2 separate regions of the Homo sapiens genome follow, and region 2 is linked to region 1. The links are contacts of gene promoters, found by promoter capture Hi-C in blood cells and fetal thymus (Javierre and others, 2016). All regions are on one chromosome and are shown on one strand. Each heading gives the region's core, a stretch centred on a gene start or on the middle of the fragment in contact. The rest is flanking DNA. Distances are from core to core; before and after follow the strand shown. Region 1 holds the start of INTS1 (integrator complex subunit 1). Region 2 overlaps UNCX (UNC homeobox).

Region 1 (4,845 bases), core at 1,957-4,456:
GCTAAGGCAGGAGAATCATGTGAACCCGGGAGGCGGAGGCTGAAGTGAGCCGAGATCGTGCCACTGCATTCCAGCCTGGGGAACACAGCGAGACTCTGTCTCAAAAAAAAATAAATAAATAAATAAATAATAAATAATAAGTAAATACATATCCACACACATGTGGACAGAGGCATTGTGATCTACCTTAACTGCGCCCGGGACAGAGACTTGGAATAAATTTCCTGATGCCGAGACAAGCTGGGGGACAAGTGGGCTGCCAGCATGGAGGGACAGCCTGGGACATTTACCACAAATGGCTGGATGCAGCCATCTCTCTGTTTTGCTGAGAATAATACTATAAAGTGATCTACCACTCAGAATACGCTTTTCATAACCACGTCTCCTCTCATCTTCAAAACCTCCTTTCTACAGGAGGTAGTGCTAAAGATAAATAAAGCACCGAGCCGCCGGCGGCCGAGAGCCCGGGCCAGGATGAGGCCTGTGGTCTCTGTCTTCAATCCCCACCGGCACCAGCTGCCCAGGGACACGCCTCATGGGAGGTCTGAGGCTCGACCTCCTAAAGCAGTCCCCCAGCTGTGCCATCCTGGGCCGTTTGCCCCCAGGGCTCCCTGATGCCAACTGAGTCCAGCACAAACACTGCCCACAGCGCCCAGCCTCAGCTCTCATGAGCGTGTGCTGCCCAGGCCAGGCCAGGCCTCCATTCCCTGGGCACAGTCCATTCTCTGCTTGGCATCTCCCTTTCCTGCCTGCCCCGGTTTCATCGCCTGTGCTTCCAGGCCCAAGCCCATACTGCAACTCCCTGCCAGGCCTCCTCCCTTCCAGGGCCGTCGGGGACTCACTCACAGGCTTGCACTGCAGCAGCCTGGTCCCTCCCTGAGGGCAAGGCCACAGCCCACAAGTCCCCTGGGTCCTGTCTGGCACAAAACTCAGTAACCAGAGGTGGCGCGGCTTGAACAGACACCTCACTACCAAAGTCATCAGGACACTTGTTCTTTTTGACTCCTACAAAGAAATTACCCAAAAGAGATGCTCCCACAGAAACAAAACACTGCAGACCATGAGGCTTGCTGGGGCTGGTGCGATAGCTGCCAGAGCGACTCCCAGGGAGTCACGGAGCCTTGAGAAATGGTCGTTGGGAAAATGGCGCAGAGGGGCAGGGGCGATTCTAGGCACACAGTTAAAGGCATTTCTGCGAGAACGGGACAGTGGTGAAGCTTACATTCCCCCGTTGATGTCCTTACTGTTCTGCTGCTTTTCAACTGAAAACAGGGAGGGGATCAACTCTTCTCTGTTGGTAACCAGGAGGGAAGGAGGAACCAAGTACACATCGCCTCCGCTCAGGTTGAGAGAGGAACGCACCAGGATGGGCAACCTTGAGAACAGACACCTGGGGTGTCGTCACGCCCGGTTTACCCCCAGGGCTCAGACAGTGCCCGTCACAAAGGGGGCGTCCAACAGACACATGAGACAAACAACTCAATAAGGGAGTGACCCGGTTCTCAAAGGGCAGCCACTGGCAGTGCAGGACGCAGATGCACACACGGGATAAGGGCATCTACGTGAGAAGCACTTCCAAGAACAAGCCACAAACATCCGCTCTCCCAAAGGACCTCGGCCATACGGGCAGCACTAGGCCTGGAGGGGGCCTTCCCTGAACACCTGATGGACGGCATGAGCTGAGGGGTGTTCTCGGGGGATGTCCACAGACTCATTACCTTCAATTGGCACCACAGATGGCTCTTTAATCGACGGAGAAATGGCTCGTTTTTCTGCCACTGCAGCCTCAGCCAGGCGCCCCAGGGCACTCAGAGGGGGTGTGGAGGAGAGTTTGGGGCGTTTGGTGAGACCGGTGAGGGCCGAGGCACTGGACAACGCGGCCGCCGCATCCCGCTTGCGCTCAGAAGGCAGGCCGGAAGGGGCTGGCTTCAGCAGGGTGGACGCCGTTTTCGATTCATTGGCCTGACCCTTTGAGCCCAGAGCAATGAAGTCTCCTGGGGGAGGGTGCCCTGCAGAGAAAGGAGAGAGAAAACCGGGCACATTTGCAACACCCAAGATGGAAAAAGACTGACTCTAACCTCCTGTTATGTCAGAGGGGATTAAACAAGGGTCAGAGGAGGCAAGGAAGAAGCCAGAGCTCACTCAGCAGCCTACAGCAGAGCTGGGACCAGCAGGATACGCACAGGTGATGGTGGACAGTCACGTAGCGCTAACCACAAACCAGGCCATCTCTGGTCTATCCAAATTAGTGTGCTTAGTAACCCCCGCCCCGAGTTTCCGCAATAGGTGCTATTACTCTAACTTTACAAGAGAGAAAGGGACACAGAGAGGTTAAGCGACGTGCCCAGCGTCACACAGCAGGCGAGTGGCAAAGTCCGGAGGATCTGAGCCGACAGTTCAGCCGCAGACCCCGTGCTACGCTACACTGTGCTGCCTCCCGCCTCCTGGCTGGGGAGACCTTCCGCTACTGTCGGCCGCCTTGCAGCTCAGCCTGAAACGAGATCACCGGGGTCCCGAAGGAAGTCGCCACTGTCCCAAGCCTCCCAGGGACTCTCAGAGCCGCTGAGGACCGAGAGCAGTGTTTCCAGACCGAATTCCTGGAAACAGCCGCGGCTGCGGAACAACCAAGCCCAACGCAGGATCCGCGGCAGCTGAGATCCCCAAAGACCCCCAAAGACCCCCAAAGACCCCCGGGCTGCAGAGCGAGGAGGGAGACGCACCTGAGGGTTTGGCCGCGGCGCTGGGCCGGCGCACCGTGGTGGGCTTGGCCCGGTTCATCCTGCCCCGTCCCTCGCGGCTCCCGGCGGCTGCGGCGTCACCTGCGGAGGAGCCAGCGTGCGGTCATTCCTTCACTCATTCGCTCGTTCGCTCGCTCATTCGCTCCCTTGCCGCACGGGGCTTGGGCCTGGGACCCGGGGACAGTGGTCCCGCGCCCGCCCGGCGGGGCGATGCTGCAGGAGCTGCAGGGACCCCGCCTCCCAGCCGCCCGGGAGCGGCTCAGTCGGGCGGCAGCAGGCGACGCGGACGCCGGGCTGGAGGCGGCAGAACCAGAAGGGACGGCCCAGAGGCCGGGAGCGGTAGCCGGGAGAACCAGGCGCTCGCCCGGCAATGAGGAAGCGCCCAGGCCGCGGCTCACTTACCTCTGGCCCATCGCGACCGGAGCGCCGCCGCCGCCACCCGGCCACCCCGGAATCGGAAACCGATCTCACCGCCCTCGAGGACCCGACTTCCGGAACAACCGGAAGGAAAACAGTGCGGCGGGAAGCGGGCCCAGAAGGAGGCGCGAGAGGCCCGCGGCGCCGGCCTGATGCCTGCAGCGCCCCATGGCGGCGGGAGGCGGGCTGGCCGGCGCCGCGCGCATGTGGTCCGGTCCAGGTGGGTCGGCGGCGCGGGGCAGGCGCTGGCCTCTCCATTCACAGGTGGTGCTGGCGTTGCGAAGGGACGCACTCCAGGACGCACGGCGGGGAGGAGTGGCGTCAGGGATCCGCGGATGAGTCAAGTGGCAGGTTCTGCACGTCCCGGAGAGCGGGGGCGGCCGGGGCGCAGGCACTGGCGAGGGGGCGCAGCCCGGGGGGCTCCCGGGGAGAGACCCTGTCTCAAATAATAATAATAATAATAATAATAGCTTTATTGAGATAGAACTCGTGTTCCACAAAGTTCACCCTTTTCTTTTTTCTTTTTTTTTTTGGCACGGAGTCTCGCTCTGTCGCCCAGGCTGGAATGCAGTGGCGCGACCTCGGCTTATTGCAACCTCCACCTCCCAGGTTCAAGCGATTCTCCTGCCTCAGTCTCCCGAGTAGCTGGGATTACAGGCGCCCGCCACCATGTCTGGCTAATTTTTTTGTGTTTTTAGTAGAGACGGGGTTTCACCATGTTGGCCAGGCTGGTCTCGAACTCCTGACCTCAGGTGGTCCGCCCGCCTTGGCCTCCCAAAGTGCTGGAATTACTGCGCCCGCCCCGCCCCCACGCCTTTTTTTTTTTTTTTTTAATGGAAACACTGATGGGAACAAAACTCAAAAGACACAAAAGATCATACAGTTGCCAGGTGTGATGCTCATGCCTGTAATCTCAGCACTTTGGGAGACCAAGGCAGGAGGATCGGTTGAGTTCGAGACCAGCCTGAGCAACATAGCAAGACCCCCATCTCTACAAAAAAATAAAAATTAGCTGGGCATGGTGGCATGAACCTCTAATCCCAGCCCTTTGGGAGGCCAAAGTGGGAGTCTGAGACCAGCCTGGGCAACATAGTGAGACCCTATCTCTACAAACAAAAATCAAGAATAAATTAGCCAGGCATGGTGGTGCATGCCTACGGTCCCAGCTACTGAGGAGGCTGAGGTAGGAGGATCTCTTCAGCTTGGGAGGTCAAGGCTGCAGTAAGCTATGATGGTGCCACTACGCTGCAGCCGGCCGACAGAGCGAGACCCTGTCTAAAAAAAAATAAAAATAAAAGGTGGGGGAATCATCCAGTCAAAGGGTCGAAGGTCTCCCCTGACCCCTGAGCAGCTGGTCCCCTCCCCTGGAGTCAGCCTGTGTTCTGATTTGTGCCTGTGTTCCCGGCTTTTCCGTGTGCGTTCAGGCAGCCACCCGTGTGCCTCCCTCTGCCTTGTCACCCTGCAGGTAGCGCACGGCTCCTCTTTTCTGCACCTGGCTTTTGCCACTTAACCACATCTTGGAGATCTGTTCCCAGCAGGGCACTGACTCGAACGCTGCCCCGCCACCGAGGGAGTCCTGAGCACCGCCTGCCCGGTGTGTCCCATCTCCTCATCCAGGGACCGCAAGGCAGAGCTGGTCTCCCTGTGCCCCTGAAGTTGGGTGTGGCCATTTGACTGTGGCCTCAGTGAG
Region 2 (5,136 bases), core at 421-2,920, 270 kb before region 1:
GGCTGTGGCTCAGCGGTCCAACGGCAGGATGGTCAGCGCCAGGCCGGGCGGGCTGCTTAGAACACGAGCCGTGAGCGGCCAGGAAGGGTGAACAGGGGCCTTGCTCTCTAGCCTCCGGACCAGGAACCCGACGCTCTCCGTCCGGGGCCAGACCGGCCCCCCAAGTAAGGGGCGGCTCCCAGGTCCCCGAGGTGAGAAGCCAGAGCGGGAAGCTGGCCGAGAGGCCCCGTCTACGCGCCTTCCGGGTGGAAAAGGCGCTCGCTGGAACCTGCAGCTCCAGTGGCAAAGCCCAGCTCAGGGCCCGCTCGGCCGCGCGGCTTCACTCCTGCCCCGGCCGAGCGGAGGTTGTGCAGGCCCCTCTGGGGGGAGCGGGGAGGTCCTCGGCCCCGGCGGCCAGCCCGCCGCCTGATTGTGGCTTCCTCTCCCCTATCCGGCTGCTCTAGGTCTGGTTCCAAAACCGCCGGGCCAAGTGGAGGAAGAAGGAGAACACGAAAAAGGGCCCGGGGCGGCCGGCGCACAACTCGCACCCGACCACGTGCAGCGGCGAGCCCATGGACCCGGAGGAGATCGCGCGCAAGGAGCTGGAGAAGATGGAGAAGAAGAAGCGCAAGCACGAGAAGAAGCTGCTGAAGAGCCAGGGCCGCCACTTGCACTCGCCCGGCGGCCTGTCCCTGCACAGCGCGCCCAGCTCCGACAGCGACAGCGGCGGCGGCGGCCTGTCTCCGGAGCCGCCCGAGCCGCCGCCGCCCGCCGCCAAGGGCCCCGGAGCGCACGCCTCGGGCGCCGCGGGGACCGCGCCCGCCCCTCCCGGCGAGCCGCCTGCACCCGGCACCTGCGACCCCGCCTTCTACCCGAGCCAAAGAAGCGGCGCCGGCCCACAGCCGCGCCCAGGTCGCCCTGCGGACAAGGACGCGGCCTCGTGCGGGCCAGGGGCCGCTGTGGCGGCGGTGGAGCGCGGCGCCGCGGGGCTGCCCAAGGCCAGCCCATTCAGCGTGGAGAGCCTCCTGTCCGACTCGCCGCCGCGCCGGAAAGCCGCTTCCAACGCCGCCGCCGCCGCCGCCGCGGGGCTGGACTTCGCGCCCGGGCTGCCGTGCGCGCCGCGGACCCTGATCGGCAAGGGCCACTTCCTCCTCTACCCCATCACGCAGCCGCTCGGCTTCCTGGTGCCGCAGGCCGCGCTCAAGGGCGGCGCGGGCCTGGAGCCGGCGCCCAAGGACGCGCCGCCCGCGCCCGCCGTGCCGCCCGCGCCGCCTGCCCAGGCCAGTTTCGGGGCCTTCTCGGGGCCCGGCGGCGCCCCGGACTCGGCCTTCGCGCGTCGCAGCCCCGACGCCGTCGCCTCCCCGGGGGCCCCAGCCCCGGCCCCGGCGCCTTTCCGGGACCTCGCCTCGGCAGCGGCTACCGAGGGCGGCGGCGGGGACTGCGCGGACGCGGGGACCGCCGGCCCCGCGCCCCCGCCGCCCGCGCCGTCGCCCAGGCCCGGCCCTCGGCCTCCCAGCCCCGCCGAGGAGCCGGCCACCTGCGGGGTTCCCGAGCCTGGCGCGGCGGCCGGACCCAGCCCGCCGGAGGGCGAGGAGCTGGACATGGACTGAGGCCGCGGCGGCCGGGAGAGGCGCGTAGCCGGCCCGCGGCCGCTCGCTCAGGCTCCGACTCACGCAACGAATCAGGTGATCGGCTCTAGAAACACTGCTTTCCCTTCTTTTCTTTTGTTTTCTTTCTTTTATTATTTTTTTTAAGAGTAAACGAAAGTGCTGTATGAATTCGGACCCAGGCAGCAACCACAGGACTGGGGGTGAGACCCTCCTCCTCCCAAGAGAGCAAAAAGGACCCATGGCCCCCAAAAAACCCCACAACGAGAATCCTCAGCCTTGTAAAATGCAAAAATGTCTAAGAATATTTATATATGTACCATTTTTGATAAATAAAGCTGGTCAAACGCAAGTTTTCAGGTCCATCTTTTTAAATTTGCCAAGCGCCCAGCCCCGCCGCCCTTCCCACCTTTCCACGCCTCTCTCCGCGGGTGGGGCCCGGAGGGGGCCCCGCACTTCCCGGGGGTCTGCGCTTAATGCGTCCTTTTGTGTGCGTGTGTGTCTGTGTTTTCTGATTCAACACATTTATGCATCTGCGGCTCCCGGTCCCCGCCCGCCCCGGCGCTCCCCCTCCTACCCCGCGCCGCACACGCACGCTCACATCCGCCGCGCGCCCCCGCGCGCACTGGCACACGCCGGGGCGCGCGGCGCGGGGTGACGGAGCCGGGGGCTGCGAGGGCCGGGCCGCTGGGCTCCTGCAGAGTTTTGATATGAAAGTAATTATTTTCCGGTGGCTGCTGCGGGGACTGGGTTTCTTGCCCAAAGGGTTATTATACATTACCGATTTCTAGTGATATGGAATCACATAAACTTCCTACAATAATAGAATTAGCATGAAAGGCTGGGGTGTCAAATTGAAATTGGAGAATAATAGCGCCGGCAGCTGGGGGAGTGCGTGCGCATATTGGAGCGGAGATGGGGAATCGTGGGGCGGAATTTTCATGAGCTGCACTCTTTGTCAGCGCTCTTGTAGCCGGCTATATTAAGATAGATGCCCAATGATATCCCTCATTGTTCTGTCGCTTATATTGATGTTGCTGCGTTATCAGCCTATTGATCATGTGTCGCCTGTAATAGGACAGGCGCCGCCAACGCGACTCTTTACAAAAGCCGTGCACATTTGTTCTAATAGGGTCCGGGTCCCCAGGGGACCCTTCGGGGACTTCAGGACATCTGCAGCGAAGAAATATTAGCAAACTTGGCTGGAGCCTGCAGCCAGCCCCGCGCCCCCGCCCCTGCCCGCAGCCGCCCCATCCCAAAGTGAACCGCCACCCGTCCTCCATCTCCCCCCACCCCCCCAAAAACCCCAACCCACTGGCCTCAATTTTCCTGGGCCCTGGGTCCTCGTTGCCGCAAAAGCCACCAATTCCCCGAGAAATTGGGATCCCAATTATTAAAACCATTAATTCCAACGAGGCTGAGCACAGTGGAATTATGTTTACAGCCTCGTTAAATATCCCTGATCCCTCCTGGTCATCAGGCCTTTATTTGCAAATAAATTGAAAATAATCTGAAGGACAGCTTTCCTCCTCGCGCGGGCGCAAATGAATTTCGGAGCCCGAGTCCCTTTAATAATATTTACATAATTTTCGCTCAGTGACTCTGATATTTGCTCTCTAGGAGACCGAGCTTATAGGAAAAATAATTAGATCAAAAGAAAAGTGAGAGGGGGAAGGAAGAGCAGGGGAGGGGGCGGGATCCACGGGAAGGAGACCTCTGCGCTGGTTGCCCAACTCTGGGACAGGCCGCCCCCAGTGGAAGCCAGGAGTTGTCGGGGAGGGGACGCGGGGTTCCCATGGAGGTCGCAGGAGCTCGGCCGCAGAGCCTGGCCCTCTGCCCCTACCCCTGCTTCCTGGGGTCCTGCAGCCTGGGCCTCCCCACAGGCCGGCCAGGGCCGCGTCCCAGCAGCGCGGCCTCCAACCCTTTGTCTCCGGCCGGTCCCGTCTGGCCTCTGCGGTCAACTCTTCCTTCTCCCGCCCCCACTCCCACCCCCATTAAACTGTATTTAAAGTGTCATTTAAATTATGAAATTGTGGCAGAAAATTGTGCGTAAAATGCCGGTTATTTTATCTAAGGTGAACAATTTGTCTGGCAGCGATAAATCGCCTCCTTCCTTCAATTTGCAGCTGTTCATTTCGGTGGCGGCTGCACCGAGTTGGGGGGAGGCCTCATGTTTAATGGATTTGCAGTTTGAATGCTGGAGTATCGCTGGCTGCACACCCGTGTCCTTAAGGTGAAATTACTGATTTACTTAAACAGTTTAGCTTTTTTTTCTGAAAGCCCAAAAGCAGCAGGCTGTGTGATTCTAGACAAACTATCAATCGATCTGGTCGAGCCAGCCTCCAGGAGATGTATCCTTCATGAATCATACTTTATGAATTCAATTTCTACCAGGAGAAATTTTCAATTTGAACGCCGGATCATTATGGGAGAGTGTAAATTGTTTTTGCTCTATTATGCATCCGACGCCATCATTTTTCTTTCTAATTACGGAGGTGTCAGGTCGAGCTGTCATGCAGGCGCTGATTTTCAATTTAACTGATCATCATACATTCATTTTCCCATTTGATAAATCTGCTATCTAGACGGCTCGCCATGCCTAGAATATTAAGAGCCGAGCTGCAGAAAGGCCCCGTAATGGGGGGATGTGTATGCACCAATAAGTGCAGATCAGGCAGTTAATTTAGCGCCTCCTGATTCCCCATCTCCATTTCTCATCTCCAATTCTCCAAGGAGAGAGAAGCAGCCCAAAGGCTACAGCCGCTCCTCTCTCCAGCCGAGGAGGAGAGGCAGAGAGAGGGGGAGCAGGAGAGAGGCCGGGAGAGGGAGAGGAGGAGGGGGAGAGAGGAAAAAACACCCTCCAAAACGCTTGTTTTCTATTACACAACTTCCAAATTAGGATATCAAGCTTAATTAATGCTAATTGAGTTCTTCAGTACGTGTTATTTTTATTTAATAGAAACAAATTTGCACAATTAATTATCGACGTAATTTCAAGAGCTTCATTTGCAAGGCGAGCTCTTCTGAATCAACCACCCCGAGTCACCTAATGATTTTTTAATTTTGCAAAAGAAAAAAAAAAAGGATTTCCCCCCCATGCTTGGGTGTGGGGTGCTGTCGTTTTGGGGTGGCAGAGGGGAATAAATAGGGGTCGGTAGGGGGGCAGCAGAGGGATATAGCGAGGCCTCCTGGGCAATGGGAACCACTGTGGTTGTTCTTGGGTCATTTGGTCCCAGAACGGGTTAGGAACCGAGGCCGCGGTGAGGGCGGCCTTCCACTGCGGCTCCCTCCGCGTCCGATGCCAGGAGAGGGTGGGAGTGGAGGACGCGGCCCCCTGCTTCGCTAGGTAGGGGTTCCTGGCTGTTCTAGGCGGCTGCTCTTCTCTGCTAGGTGGTGCCTCTGGGCGGGGAGCAGGGGCCTCCTCCACAACGCGGCCAGGGTCTAGGAGTGCGGGGCAGGAGGTCCCCCTGGGCTGGCCAGGGTCTAGGAGTGCGGGGCAGGAGGTCCCCCTGGGCTGTCGGGTTTGATTGCTTCACGGGCCCAGGTTGTC

What was found. Contacts are between HindIII fragments. The CHiCAGO score rates a contact against its expected background, and 5 or more counts as called.
Region 2: a contact is called between a fragment that was not itself captured here and the fragment with the promoter of INTS1 in region 1, in 1 of 17 cell types (endothelial precursors). The highest score is 5.1, in endothelial precursors.

What each region holds. Positions count from the first base shown.
Region 1 is chr7:1,501,183-1,506,027 of GRCh38, forward strand. It overlaps INTS1 (integrator complex subunit 1), which reads right to left and starts at 3,207. Exons shown (of 48, transcript NM_001080453.3): 1 at 3,141-3,207; 2 at 2,721-2,819; 3 at 1,719-2,009. The coding sequence starts at 2,778. RefSeq lists a silencer at 2,853-3,412 and enhancers at 4,299-4,845, 4,521-4,710. The HindIII fragment of the contact is 9,546 bases long and covers 1,216-4,845 here.
Region 2 is chr7:1,235,389-1,240,524 of GRCh38, forward strand. UNCX (UNC homeobox) reads left to right here. Exons shown (of 3, transcript NM_001080461.3): 3 at 444-1,938. The coding sequence ends at 1,589. Among named protein-coding and RNA genes, the nearest start is that of UNCX, 5.1 kb to the left of the region's middle. RefSeq lists an enhancer at 1-34. The HindIII fragment of the contact is 5,643 bases long and covers 1-4,492 here.